2 separate regions of the Homo sapiens genome follow, and region 2 is linked to region 1. Evidence: promoter capture Hi-C in human tissues and cell types (Jung and others, 2019). All regions are on one chromosome and are shown on one strand. The core of a region is centred on a gene start or on the middle of the fragment in contact, and the rest is flanking DNA. Distances in the headings are between cores, read along the strand shown. Region 1 holds the start of KLHL38 (kelch like family member 38). Region 2 has its middle 35 kb from the start of KLHL38.

Region 1 (6,878 bases), core at 3,078-5,577:
AGTTAATTGCAACCTTACCTGTCTGCTCCTCATGTTTCTCTCCACCTGTAAGAACAGGAGATTCTCTGATGCTAGCAGGGGACAGCCTTCCAGAGAGACCGCAGCACCACAGGGGCCTTTATGTGCATGTTTGTCCATCCTTGAAACACAGCAATCACCATAGCTATGGTTCCTAATTAGAGTGAGGGGACTTCTCCTGGAAGGAGCAGATGGGGAGCACGGCCCCGAGTGGGTTGAGAGGACTGAGGGTAGGGTTGTGGCAGAGAGTGTTTTGTGGCTTCCCAGCTGTTGTTGTCAAACCTGCTGCTGACAGGAGCCAGCCTGCCCTTTCCTTGGGGACCCAGACCCCGCACACCCAGATAGGAAAGAAACCAAGGCCTCCTGAGTCAAAGTGCCCACCATGGCAATCCAAAACTCCAGGAGGGAAAATGAAGGCTTTCTGGATTGACTTACAAGGGCAAACTCATCAAGGGCACCTGCTGGGAGCTCGACTTAGGTTTCTTCTCTGCACTTGGCTTCAGGCGAGAGCCGTGAGGAAGCTCTGAAGAGCCCTCATCCCTCAGTCTCAGTTTCTCCCAGTCCCTGTTCTAGGCCACAGATTGCAGAGAACACCTCAGGGTACAAACCACAGGAAGGTGATCTAGAAGGGCCAGGTGAGGAAATAAGTGCAGAGAGGTTAATTGACTCATCCAAAGATGCACAGCTAGTCGATAGCAGAGCCCAGACTGAATGCCAGGACTCCTGGAGGCTAAGTAGATCATGAGGAACACAGCAATTGCTCAAGGAAAAGGAAAATGCTAGAATGCACAGGGGACCAATTGAGACACTGAAAACCAGGCACCAAGACCCATTGGAATCTAATGAGATTAATTTTAGAGTAATAATATCATACTGACCATACTTTACTATGAATATACACTGTGCCAGGCACTTTACTGCATACTGCACATACATTATTTCACTGTGACAAGGATGGTTATCCCCACTTAACAGATGGAGAAACTGAGGCTGGAGGAGTATAAATAACTTACCCAAGACCACATGAATACTGAGGGGAAATGCCAAGATTATCCCCAGCCCTTCTGCCCCCAAAGTTCAGGCCTTGACTTGTTATGATACTGACTTTCATCAAAAGGAGGGCCGTGATTCATGCCTGTAATCCCAGCACTTTGGGAGGCCAAGGTGGGTGAATCTCTTGGGCCCAGCAGTTCAAGACCAGCCTGGGCAACATAGCAAAACCCTGTCTCTACAAAAAACACAAAAAATAGATGGATGTGGTGGCTCATGCCTTTAGTCTCAGCTTCTCAGGAGGCTGAGGTGGGAGGATCACTCGAGCCTCGGAGTTGGAGGCTACAGTGAGCCATAATCATGCCACTGCACTCCAGCCTGGGCCACAGAGTGAGACCCTGTCTCAGAAGAAACAAAAAAAGGAGAAACAATGAGCTGAATGTCCTCATTGATGTCATTTCTTTTAGGTTGCCATATGTTCAGGCCCTAGACTAAGACATCTTCTAGATGAAAGTTAAGACAAAAAGTATAAACCTCCCTGAGAGAAGTCAACTCATGAATGGGCTGGTTGGGCTACATGTGGGTGGTAGAGATGCTTTTTGGGGTCAAGCTTGGGCTTATATGTGTGTGTTTGCCATGTTGAACACTAAGACTCTGTGTCTTGACATTTGACATCTGACCTAGAACCAGGATCCTCCTGGTAGGCCAGGCCAACAAAACAGGGCCTATTTTTTCTAAACATTAGAAACCAAAAGATTTAGTAAAGTTGGTCAGACATTGATGCTGCACACCAAGGTCTATCTGAACAATTGACAGAGCTGGATTCCAGAAAGTTTAATTAGTAAGGGGATGTAGGGGAAAATCCAACATCCTTCCCAGGGAACGGTGCTGTGTTAATTCACTCCTAGGATCCCCTACCTATTACCCTCAGAATAAATCCTTGGCTTGCTTGCTGCCTGGAAGAGAAATCATGCAGGTGTTTCAGAGCATTAAGGAAGTTATTTCTTCCTCATGTTCACTCCGAGGTCAAGGACAAGAATGCTAGCTTTGGCGTTGGGAGGACCTCAGTTCAGTTCCCAGCCTGAACTTAAGTCTTGCACTGCAGTATAAAACAAGTGTTTTACTTTTCACTTCATCACATTATTGGATTTGATTATGTGGATAATCAGGGCTGCTCCAGAGCATATTTGCAGGGCAGTCTACGCAGTAAGCCATACATGGCAGCTCTGCAAAACCGGCACAGCAGACAGTGGTGTGAAGTCCACCCAGCAAAGCTCCCTCTCTTTCCCCATTCCCCATTCTGTTCCAGCTCAATGCAGGAAGTGTATGAAATTCACCCCCTATAAGCCAGGCCCTGTGCTGGGTGCTAGGAGTAGAGCTACAATGAAGTCAAGATTCCTGCTGCCCAGAGACTTCCACTCTAATAAGAGAGACACAGGGAAGTAAACATAATCTCAGTGAGGTATGAGGCATGCCATTAGAGGCATGTAGAAGAATGGAAACTGCACAGAGGAGTGTGAAGTTAAGTGTCTTAGAGAGGGGTAAAAAGACTTGCAGAGAAGTGATACATAAACCAAGTTTTGGAAGACGAACAGAAACAGTGAAAATGATAGAGTGAGCAGAGGGGAAGAGCTCATAGAAAGGGATAGAGTACGAATCAGAGGATCCCTGGGCTCTTTCAGGAATGTGGCTACTCACTTATTATGTCACCAGCACAGCTCACCAACTCGGACATATGGAGGAACAGCTCCTCTCACCTGCTCCCTGCTTGTGCCTCCATGGGTCTCTGACCCCCTTAGCTTAGGCCTCCTGCTCCTAATTCTGGCCTCCAGGCCCATGGCCCCAGTAACATGTTTTGGATCCATTTCCCTGGCCTTGACCTTCTGGACTCTTTTGGGCATAATCCACTCTACGATCGGCAACTGTGAATGAGAAACCCTCTTCCTTCCACCCTGCCCTGTGGTGTCCCAAAGGCCAGGCCAGCCCAGCTTCCCCAACAGTGACCAGATGCATACAAGGATCTGTAAGTGTCTCATGGAGCTAGATTACCACACATGAGTGGCAGTAGACATGGTTCCAGAAGCAGACAGGACACCAGTCCGATTCTGGCTAAGGAGTCCTGCAGACATGGGGAGCCACTGAAGGGCCTGATGCTGGGGACTGGCAAATTCTGAGTTGCCTTCCCAGGGGCTGCTCCAGAGAAGACAGGGTGGATGTATTGGAGAGAGAAGTACTAGGAGCAAAGAAAAAAAAATGCATGGAAGACCATTGCACTAGTTGAGCAAGACGTTGAGTAGGAGACAAAGTCAGGCTTCCCTGCCTTTTGTGGCTAAGACAATCATGGACCTCCCTGAAGGCAGGGGCAGAACAGACCTGAGGTCCCCCTCACTCTCTCTCGTGATTCTGATTGTTATTGAAAGCTGCCTCCTACCACATCACTATCATCATTCCTCCCCCGATTCTCTACCTCCTGCTTCTTTTCCTCCTCCTCCTATTCCTCCTCCTCTTCTTCCTCCTCTCGTCTCTCTCCCTCCCTCTGTCCCTGCTTCTTCTTCCTCCTCATCCTCCTTCATCTTCTTTCTCTCTCTCCCTAAAGCAATATGCCTTGCCTCCTGCCTCTAGCTCAAGCTGCCAGACAAGACAAAATGGAAAAGTAAGACAGAAAAGGAAGTCTGAACTATAAAAAGCCAGCTGAAGAGCAATCAGCACGTGTCTGGGAGAGGCAGACGCGACAGGAGGAGCTCGGCCTTACCACTGTCAATCAGAGGTTCCTGAGTAAGGAGACCTGACAAAGGTTTGGGCCTTCAGGAGTCTGGAAACCCTGGGATGCTCAACAACAACAACAACAAAAAACAACAACTTTTGTCATGGATTTCATCACCTAGGATCCTGGAGGAGGAAATCACAGCTCTCCCCAGCGATCCCGCCAGGCAGATGGTGGGAAATAGAGATCCATTGAATAGCACCCACAGGCTCATGTTCCGGCTTCCCTTGTGACCACCTGCCACCTCCACTGTGGCCCAGAACCATCTTCAGTGACTCTCCACAGGTCACAGCAACCTGTTTACAGACGGCTAGAATTCCCAAGCACTTTTAGGACAGGGGACTCGGGATGGTTCCAAGCAGACAGCAAAGTCTTCTCTAAGAGAAGCCGCTCCTCCCGATCTATTTTTGCCGATGTAAACACTTGCCAAGGAAACGAGGCATGTGGGCATGCGCCGGCCCTGCAGGCCCTCGGGTTGCTGCAAAAGGCAACTGGAAAGTCACATGTCATAACAGTGGAAAGTACATATGCAACTATTCTTAGCCCTGGAATGTATACACTGTCTCCCTGCCCAGCAGTCCTTGCACAAAGCTCTAGAAAACTATGAAAGTGCCTTCAGCATAAACAAATCCAGAAATCTCCCAGGACAAATCATTTGCCAACTGAAAGAAAGGCCTGGGGTTTATGGTTTCCCTTGGAGCTAGAGGTAGAAACTCTCCGGGGGGATAAGTCAGACCAGGCACCAGTGGATGTCACCGCAGCAAAACAAGGTAAGTGTCCCTCATACTTATTTCTTCTGCAAGTAGAAAACCAGGTGTCATCCAATAAACCAGGGGATTGTTTGGTCTTTCCTTTTATTTATTCTATCTTTAAAACAAGACTCAATGAAGTCATATTTAAATATATGCATCAAAGGTCCATTTTCTTCCCTCATTTCTGTCCAGTGACCAGAGGGCCACACCTCCAGAATATCATCCTTGGGGAATGATTGACACCCAGAAAGAGAGGTTTAGACATCTGTTACTCAATAACAGATATGCCATCGATCTGGAAAAAGGCTCATGAACTTCTGCTGGTCAAATCCATGGACTGTTATCTTGCTTCAGACTAACATTTCAGCTTCTGATAACAGAGTAACTTCCAACAACTTTAGTTTGTTTGTTTGGTTGTTTCTCTCAGATTAGCTGAAGATACTATTTGCCTATTACTTTTGAAAATAACCATAACCCAAAAGGGCTCAGGTCTGAGATGTATGTGGCCTTCCTTTCCAATCTTCCCTACACAATATCCATGGTGACATCCGCAAACATCATGGGGAATGGAATAGGAGCACTGGTCTTGGAGTCCCCACAGCTGAACCCTCCAGCACATGCAGCTGAGAAAGGTTTGACTCTTGCTGACTCTGGGGGCTTCCTTCCCTCTTTGTAGGATGGACGAGGAGTCACTAGATGGGCTGCTCTTCAAAGACCACGACTTCTCTTCTGACTTGTTGAGGCAGCTCAACAGCTTAAGGCAAAGCAGGATCCTGACTGATGTGAGCATCTGTGCCGGTGCCCGGGAGATCCCCTGCCACCGCAACGTGCTGGCCTCCAGCAGCCCCTACTTCAGGGCTATGTTCTGCAGCAGCTTCCGGGAGAAGAGTGAAGCCAAAGTGCAGCTGAAAGGCATTGACCCCCCAACCCTGGACCAGATCGTCTCCTACGTGTATACGGGGGAGGCACATATTGCCACTGACAATGTCCTCCCCGTGATGGAGGCCGCCTCCATGCTACAGTTCCCCAAGCTGTTTGAGGCCTGCTCCTCGTACTTGCAGAGCCAGTTGGCCCCCAGCAACTGCCTGGGTATGATCAGACTCTCAGAAATCTTAAGCTGCGAGACCCTCAAGAAGAAAGCCAGGGAGGTGGCACTGACGTCCTTCCCAGAGGTGGCCGCATCGGCCGACCTGAAGGAGCTCTGTGCCTTGGAGTTGAGGGACTATCTCGGAGATGATGGGCTCTGTGGGGAGGAGGAAAAGGTGTTTGAGGCCCTCATGGTTTGGATCAAGCATGACCTCCAGGCCCGGAAGCGATACATGCAGGAACTGTTCAAGCAGGTCAGGCTGCAGTACATCCACCCAGCCTTCTTTCACCACTTCATCGCCAACGATGCCCTCCTGCAGTCCTCGCCTGCATGCCAGATCATCTTGGAGACCGCCAAGAGACAGATGTTCTCTTTGTGTGGCACCACCGTCCCAGACTGCAAACTCCTGTTGCATGTCCCTCCAAGAAACTCTTACCAAGATTTCCTCATCCTCTTGGGCGGAAGGAAGGACAGCCAGCAGACCACCAGGGACGTCCTACTGTACAGCAAACAGACCGGCCAATGGCAGAGCCTTGCCAAACTCCCGACACGGCTGTACAAGGCCTCTGCCATCACCTTGCACCGCAGCATCTATGTGCTGGGGGGCATGGCTGTCAGCTCAGGGAGGAGTCTGGTCAGTCACAATGTCTACATCTTCTCCCTGAAACTCAATCAGTGGAGGCTGGGGGAGCCCATGCTGGTGGCCCGCTACTCCCACAGAAGCACTGCCCATAAGAACTTCATCTTCTCCATCGGGGGGATTGGAGAAGGGCAGGAGCTCATGGGCTCCATGGAAAGGTATGACAGCATCTGCAATGTCTGGGAGAGTATGGCCAGCATGCCCGTGGGGGTGCTCCACCCCGCAGTCGCTGTGAAAGACCAAAGACTCTATCTCTTTGGAGGAGAGGACATCATGCAGAACCCTGTGCGCCTTATCCAGGTAAATGGCCGGTTCTTCCCATCACGTAACTGCATGAGTATGTGTGCTTGGACACACCCACACCTGCTTGCACACACATGCACATGTATACATACACACCAAAAAACACATATATGCACATAAATATATATATGCACACATATACACAAACACACATATGCATACATGCGTGCACACATATATGCAGAAATGTATATTCATGCATACATGCATACACATATGCACACATATATGCAGATGCCAACATGCATACGTGTGCACATGCATACACATATACAATTCATGCATGCATACACACATTTACATATATCTACACATGCATGCACA
Region 2 (6,878 bases), core at 1,541-4,040, 35 kb after region 1:
CTTTCCAAATCACCTACCTTCACACCTGAGACTGGAAGAATTCTGGACTGGAAATCAGAAGACCCAACTTTTAACCCAGGTCCTACTGCTAACTGTGGGGTCTTGACTGTAACAGGAAAATGAAGAGAACAAACCCTGAAAAATTCTCTTCACCCTAAAATACCTAGGATTCCAAGACTAAAGGCTTCTTTAGTCTTGTACTTAAGATACAAACACATTCCCTAAATGCAGTGACACATTAGTCAACTATTACCCATTATCCTTTGGGTCAAAGCTTAACCCACACACCTTCCCACAGGTCCTAAAGGATGCCACAAAAGACCCGTCATTTAAACAGGGTGATGAAGAAGGAAGGATTTAGAAGATGGGGTCTCTCTCAAGAGAGGCAAGGAATCTGGCCGAAGACCACACTGGCCCATGGGGAGCATCAGGCTCCGAACCCCGAGTTTGGAGGCACCAAAAAGGAAAGTGGGGAATGAATGAGGCACAAAAAAACTCATTTTTCCCACTTTATACTTTTTCCTTGGCTGGGCCTAAATACAAATTGCAAAAAGTCTATCCTAATGAGAGCTTTTAAGACCTTTGCGGATGCTTATTAAATGGCAAATAAATAGAGTAATAATGATCCTAAGGACTTCTAATTTCATCACTGCCCTGACACGTGTCAAAATAGCCATTCCCTTTACTGTTCCAGAAATGAGACTCACTTTGTGAGGCGAAAAGGGATCAAGGGGGAGAGAAATGAAGAAAATAACTAACCAGTGCCTTTATTCAGCGTGCACTCTGCACTCAGCACTCAGCACTGTGCTGATGCAGGACATGGGTTCTCTTGTTGTGGTCTCGTGACACATTTGCAAAGGTAGTAGTACCATTCCCATTCTACAGATGGGAAACACTGAGGCTCAGAAAAGGTTCTCTTGCCCCACATCACCCAGCCAGTGATGGGCACCGCCAGGATTTAAATCCACATCAGGGTAACACAAAACCCATACTCCTTCCACAATGATCACCAAAAGTGAGTTTTAGCCAACAAGTTTTAGCTTTCCACTTCAGTGATAAGCAAAGTAATAGCGATGATGAGCATTTGATGAGTGCTTATTATTTGCCAATCATTCTGCTAAATGTCATCATTTATCCCGACATTTAATCCTCACTCTAACCCTACAAAACAGCTAATACTGTCCTCTTTTCACTGCTGAGGAACCTGAGATTAAGCAATTTACCCAGGGACACATGGTTTGATAGCAAAGACTCAGCCAGACAATCTGACACCAAACACCATAATCGTAACTGCTGCACACAGCAAACTTATTTTAGTTCAATCCCCCATAAATAAAAACTTGTTATTGCTCAGAGTATTAAGAGGGATGAGGATAAAGGAGATTTTAACTATGATACAGGCTGCTGACAGACCCAGAAATCGCTCTATGACAGCAGCTTGGAGTGACTAAGAGGTGGATGTTTTCAGAGTGTTAGGCCTGCCCTCAAAGCCATTCAGGCTCAAAACAAAACCTTCTCTGAGTCCTGATGTTTTTAAAAAACACAGGTCCATTCCAGTCGTACAGGGACACCATACCCCATCCTGCAAAAACAACACCCTGGCCCTCTCCCCTCAGGGCCTGGAAAATGTTTCTGGCGTCTTTGCAGAAATGGGAAACTGGAGCAGGAAGGAGGTAAGAAAGAAAGAAAAGAAGGGGAAAAACCCAGTGTCTATGTATGTGAAACGCAGCAGAGGGCTGAGCTAATGAAAGAACGTATTTCCAAAATTGGAACCAAAACATATTTCACAAACTCTCTTGGCCTTGCAGAGGATTAGCTGCTAATGGACATGACCGTGGGTACCACTCTCTGTTTACAAGCTTCCTGTCTGCCCTGCATGTAGACGTGACTTTCTGTGTCCTCCATGAAGGCTGATTATCCAGTTACCTGGGCTGCGTAAACCCAAACAATTCCCAGAGTCTCTTGGATAAGACTCGAGGAGCAAAGTCCAGAGGGGCACTGGCTGTGGACATATTTTCACCATCAGCTCACAAATGTGTGTCCTCAAGGGTGTCACCACCACAAACAACAGGCCTGAACACCTCAAAAATGCCAGTGTCGTGAAAGACAAACAAAGGCTGAGGAGCTGTTCCAGATTAAAGGAGATTAAAGGGACATGAGGAACAAATACAGCGCATGATCCTTGATTGCATTTGGAGGAGAGGAGTGGAAGTTTCTGTAAAGGATATGATTGGGGCAACTGGCAAAATTCAAACATGGAGTGTCTGTTAGATCACAGTGTTATGCCAAAGTTAAATCTGAACATGATCCTCGTACTGATTCAGTATACAAATGGACAATGGCCAGACCATATGTAAAAATAGAACTTTGACCCAAAACCTGCAGCAGCCTGTCCAGGAAACCAACCCCTTATCTACAATAACCAGCCCAGAAAACCAGCCTGCTGTAATTCAGACTTGCAGGAAGCCAGGTTTCTATCTCTAGTGACAATCCAGGAAGCTAAACAATAACTTCTGTAACAATCTACTCAAAATGGCCAGGACTCGGTTAGGAATGGACAACTTCCCTGATTTTTGCTCCGACTGCCAATTTAGGACCAACCAGAGAAAGCCAGAAAGGCACCCCTAACCAATCATAGAGGACACCTGGCTTCTAGTTCGCTGCCTTCAGCTTCCCCAGGCCAACCCTTTTTTCCACCTGAAATCTTCCTGTTTTCCTCTTTATGAGCATTCCCACTCTTCTGCCTGCTTTTGAGTCTCTGCCAAAAGACACATGATGGTGCTGACTCCCAGGCTGTAGCAAGCTCTGAATAAACAGCCTTTGCTTTTCTCATTTGATTGGTCTTCATTTATTTCCACAGCACCGTGGTTATATGAGACAAAGCACTTGTTCATAGGAAACACACACTGAAGTGTTTAGGGGTAAAGAGTGCACCCTTAATCCTCAGATGGTTCAGAAATATATATACACACACACATCCAGAGAGGGAGGGAGCAAGGAAGCAAAAGTGGTAACCAGCTAACAATTAGTGAACCTGGGTGAATGGTATGGGAGTTCTTTATATCAGCAGTGCCCAGGGACCGGTTTCGTGGAAGAAAATTTTTCCAAGGACCAGGGGCAGGGGATGGTTTCAGGATGATTCAAGCCCATTACATTTATTGTGAACTTTATTTCTATTATTATTACATTGTAATAAAGAATGAAGTAATTATACAATTCACCATAATGTAGAATCAGTGGGAGCCCTGCGCTTGTTTTCCTGCAATTAGATGGTCCTATCTAGGGGTGATGGGAGACAGTGACGGATCATCAGGCATTAGGTTCTCATAAGAAGCATGCAACCTAGATCCCTAAGTTCACAATAGGGTGTGAGCTCCTATGAGAATCTAATGCCACCACTGATCTGACAGGAGGCAGAACTCAGGAGGTAATGCGAGCCACAGGGAGCGGCTGTACGGAAGCAGCTTCACTCACTCACCTGCCCCCCACCTCCTGCTGTGCCGCCCATTTCCCAACAGGTCACAAACTGGTAGCAGTCCGTGGCCCTACGGTTGGGGACTGCTGCTTTATACTATTCTTGCAATTCTTTTGTTAAGTTTGAAATTATTTTAATATAAAAAGTTTTTTTTAAGTGGCCCCAGCTGATGGCTCACGTCCTAACCAAACATTTCACACCTGCTCACCTAAGACACTGGACAATGGATTTGAGTCTTATCCATGCTGCTTTATGTGTTTCCTTTTGCAGAACCGTGAATGCAGAAGCCCAGAATCTCTCAGCTTATCCCCTGAAAAATGATCATGTCCTCCCCACCCCCAGCACTCTCCTAACCCTTGTTGGCAGTTCTCTTGTTTGGATCACTGACAAGCATAGAGACAGCATAGAGAATCAGGGTGATCTTGAAGTCCCTTCTCCTTTCTTTCTGGGCCAAGAAGAACAAAGAGTCGGGGGGCTGCTCTCATTATCAGCTCTCACGTGTACCCTGCGCCGTGTGATGCCAATGGCTCACGAACTGGGATTGCAAGGATGTTTGGAGATTGGCCATCTTCTTAAGGCTAAGCTGAGTTCTTGGAACTGGCTGGACTTAACCATTACATTCCAAAGCTGTTGTATATGACGATTCCCCAACCTGGGCTTCTGATTCGTCTTTCTTCCTTGCAACATATTGAGGTGCCCTCTTAATTTTTAAGCCTCTCTTATCCCTTAACATAGAGTTTCTTAACTGTGGCTGCACATTGGAATCATCTAGAAGCTTTAAAACAATACTGTGTGCCTTGCCCCAGCCACTCTTATTCAACCATTCCAAGGTACAGACTGGGACCGGAATTTTTTTTTTTTTTTTTTGGTTTTGGTTTTGGTTTGAAGCTCCTCAGAAAATTCTTATGTGGAATTAGATTCTAATGTGTGCAGCCAAGATTGAGAACTACTGCCCTAACATATTGTTTGCAGGAAATGCACTCTACAATGTTTAGAGATAGAAGGCCAGGATGTCTGCATGTAACCCTCAAATGGTTCAGAAAAAATATATACATATTTGGAGACAGGGAGGGAGGAAGTGATAAAGCGTATATCTATGAAGCTCTTCCCTTCCAGATTTTCCATCTTTCTGATAACTTTAGAGAGATTCCTGATCATTTCCTCCAGGTTTGACCTCCCTGAAGCCCCCACTTAGGGGCAATTTCCCTGAAGTGGTTGGGATTCACTCAGTCTTTGCAAAAGGGATTTATTTGGAAGTCTTTCTCAACAACAAATTAAGGAAAGATGAGCCAAGTGAAAGCTTGCTCTGGTCTATCACAATCAAAGGTAATCATCGCAACAAGCAAACTTACCCTGTCTATATTTACAAGGTAAAAACCCCAGAAGCACTACAGCACACGTCCCCTTGTGACCCTACAAGTTGTTACAAAGCAAAAAACAACACATCATTCAGATGCAGTTATAAGATACTGAAAATACATGGGGCAAAGAGATGATGAAATTGTACCAGATTTACAGCAACAGGTGGCAGCTTCTCCTCTTAGGCATATACGTGGTCATCTGGCCTCTCGGTCACACTAAAGAGAGAACAAGGAGACCCAGCACCAGGAAGTCTGTTGAAAGATCTGTGGCCAGGATTGAAAACAGGGGGGGCATGAGACACTGGAAAAGCATGCATTTGCCCAGTTCTCAGTCCAAGTATTCATTAGAATCACACGGGGGCTTCTGAAAATGTCTATCTCCAATCCTCAGCCTCATTCAATTAAACTAGTATCTTTAGGTAGGGCCCAGGCACTGGTATGTTTTAAAGGTCCCCAGATGGTCTGAATGTGCTTCCCGCTTGACTTTGAATATCACCTTCACATGGAATTCTCTTATCTCGCCAGTCAGGCAGGCAGGACTCTTGAGTTCCTCATGCCTTCTGATCCAAGTTCTGTAGACACATCACTTTTCTTCCCCTACCCCCATCCCCTTCACTCTGCCTTCTTCTTGTCTCACCCTTTCCCTGTTACACACACGTACACACACACTCATATACACACACTCACACAACCACATACACAGGCCAACAGAGCAAAAATCCCAGCAAGCCCATTTGAGTCATTACAGCTTCATGCATACGAGCCATTTTCTCAATTACACTATGAGTTTCGGGGAACAGGTATCTCCCCTTATCCTGTGGGGCCCCTGGCAGCATCTAGCAAAGTCTGTAGCTCAGGTAGGAAGATGGCTTGAGCCCGAGAAGCCGAGGCTGCAATGAGCCATGATCACACTACTGCACTCCAGCCTGAATGAATGACAGAGAGAGATCCTGTCTCAAAAAAAAAAAAAAAAAAAAAGCAAAGCACCAATTGGCTAAAGGGTTGGTTGATCTTTTCCGCCAAAACTATCCAAAAACAGACTCACTGAGCCCAAAACTTGGTATCCTAGGGTAGAGTCAGACAGCCACTGATTATTAAGTACCATGGACTGGATTTGAATTCTGGCTCCAACACTCGTGAGTTATGAGAGTTTAAGTAAATGACTCAAGGCGTTTTCTCTAAGCCTCAGTTTCTATACCAACCAAATGCGAATAATATTGGTATCCAACTTATAAGGCTGTTAGATAATATTAATACATGCAAAGCACTTTGCAACTTCAAAGTGTCTGACAGATAATAAACATTCAATACATGGCAGCAATTTTCAATAGCCACATCTGTGGACTGAAGTCCACAGAAATGACCCCCAAAGTCCAACTCAATCATGTGTAGACAATGGTTCACAAAAACAGTCTCCAGATGGTACAGGGCCCACTGCTTTGTGGTTTGCTGCCAATATTCCAGTGTCCTGTCTGGGTGACCCTGCAGCTCAATTTTGACTATTCTCACTTTCAAGAAGCCACCCATGAAGTGTCAATACACGACTCATCTGTTTCATTCTTCCCTTACAACAAGATACAGGGCAGGTGGGAAGACTATTGAGTTCAATTCTAGAAATCAGGCCAAGTCTCCAGATTCTTAGGGATGCCCATCGGTCACACAGAAGGTCTTATGCATGAATGAATCGCCTGTAGGACTTGCCACAAAGGCAAGCTGTGGGTTCAACTCCCAGATACTCTGTTTCCATGGATCTGGACTAGATCCTTGACTCTTCCTAACAAATGGGCCAGGTGATTCTGAGGCAGGCAGTGGTGGTGCCACTCCTAAATAAACACTGATCTTTTTTTTTTTTGAGACTGAGTCTTGCTCTGTCGCCCAGGCTGGAATGCAGTGCTGCAATCTCAGCTCACTGCAACCTCCGCCTCCCAGGTTCAAGCAATTCTCCTGCCTCAACCTCCTGAGTAGCTGGGATTACAGGCATGTACCATCATGCCCAGCTAATTTTTTGTATTTTTAGTAGAGACACAGTTTCACCATGTTGG

Evidence for each region. The method cuts DNA at HindIII sites, captures the fragments that hold promoters and counts their contacts. A contact is called where the count stands out against the background at its distance.
Region 2: a contact is called between a fragment that was not itself captured here and the fragment with the promoter of KLHL38 in region 1, in 1 of the 25 tissues and cell types used here (aorta).

The regions. Positions count from the first base shown.
Region 1 is chr8:123,651,250-123,658,127 of GRCh38, reverse strand. It overlaps KLHL38 (kelch like family member 38), which reads left to right and starts at 4,327. Exons shown (of 4, transcript NM_001081675.3): 1 at 4,327-4,542; 2 at 5,201-6,551. The coding sequence starts at 5,202. LOC105375738 (a long non-coding RNA gene) reads right to left here and starts at 190. Exons shown (of 4, transcript XR_928606.3): 1 at 19-190. The HindIII fragment of the contact is 9,515 bases long and covers 1-6,878 here.
Region 2 is chr8:123,614,948-123,621,825 of GRCh38, reverse strand. No RefSeq gene overlaps it. Among named protein-coding and RNA genes, the nearest start is that of KLHL38, 35 kb to the left of the region's middle. The HindIII fragment of the contact is 3,446 bases long and covers 1,068-4,513 here.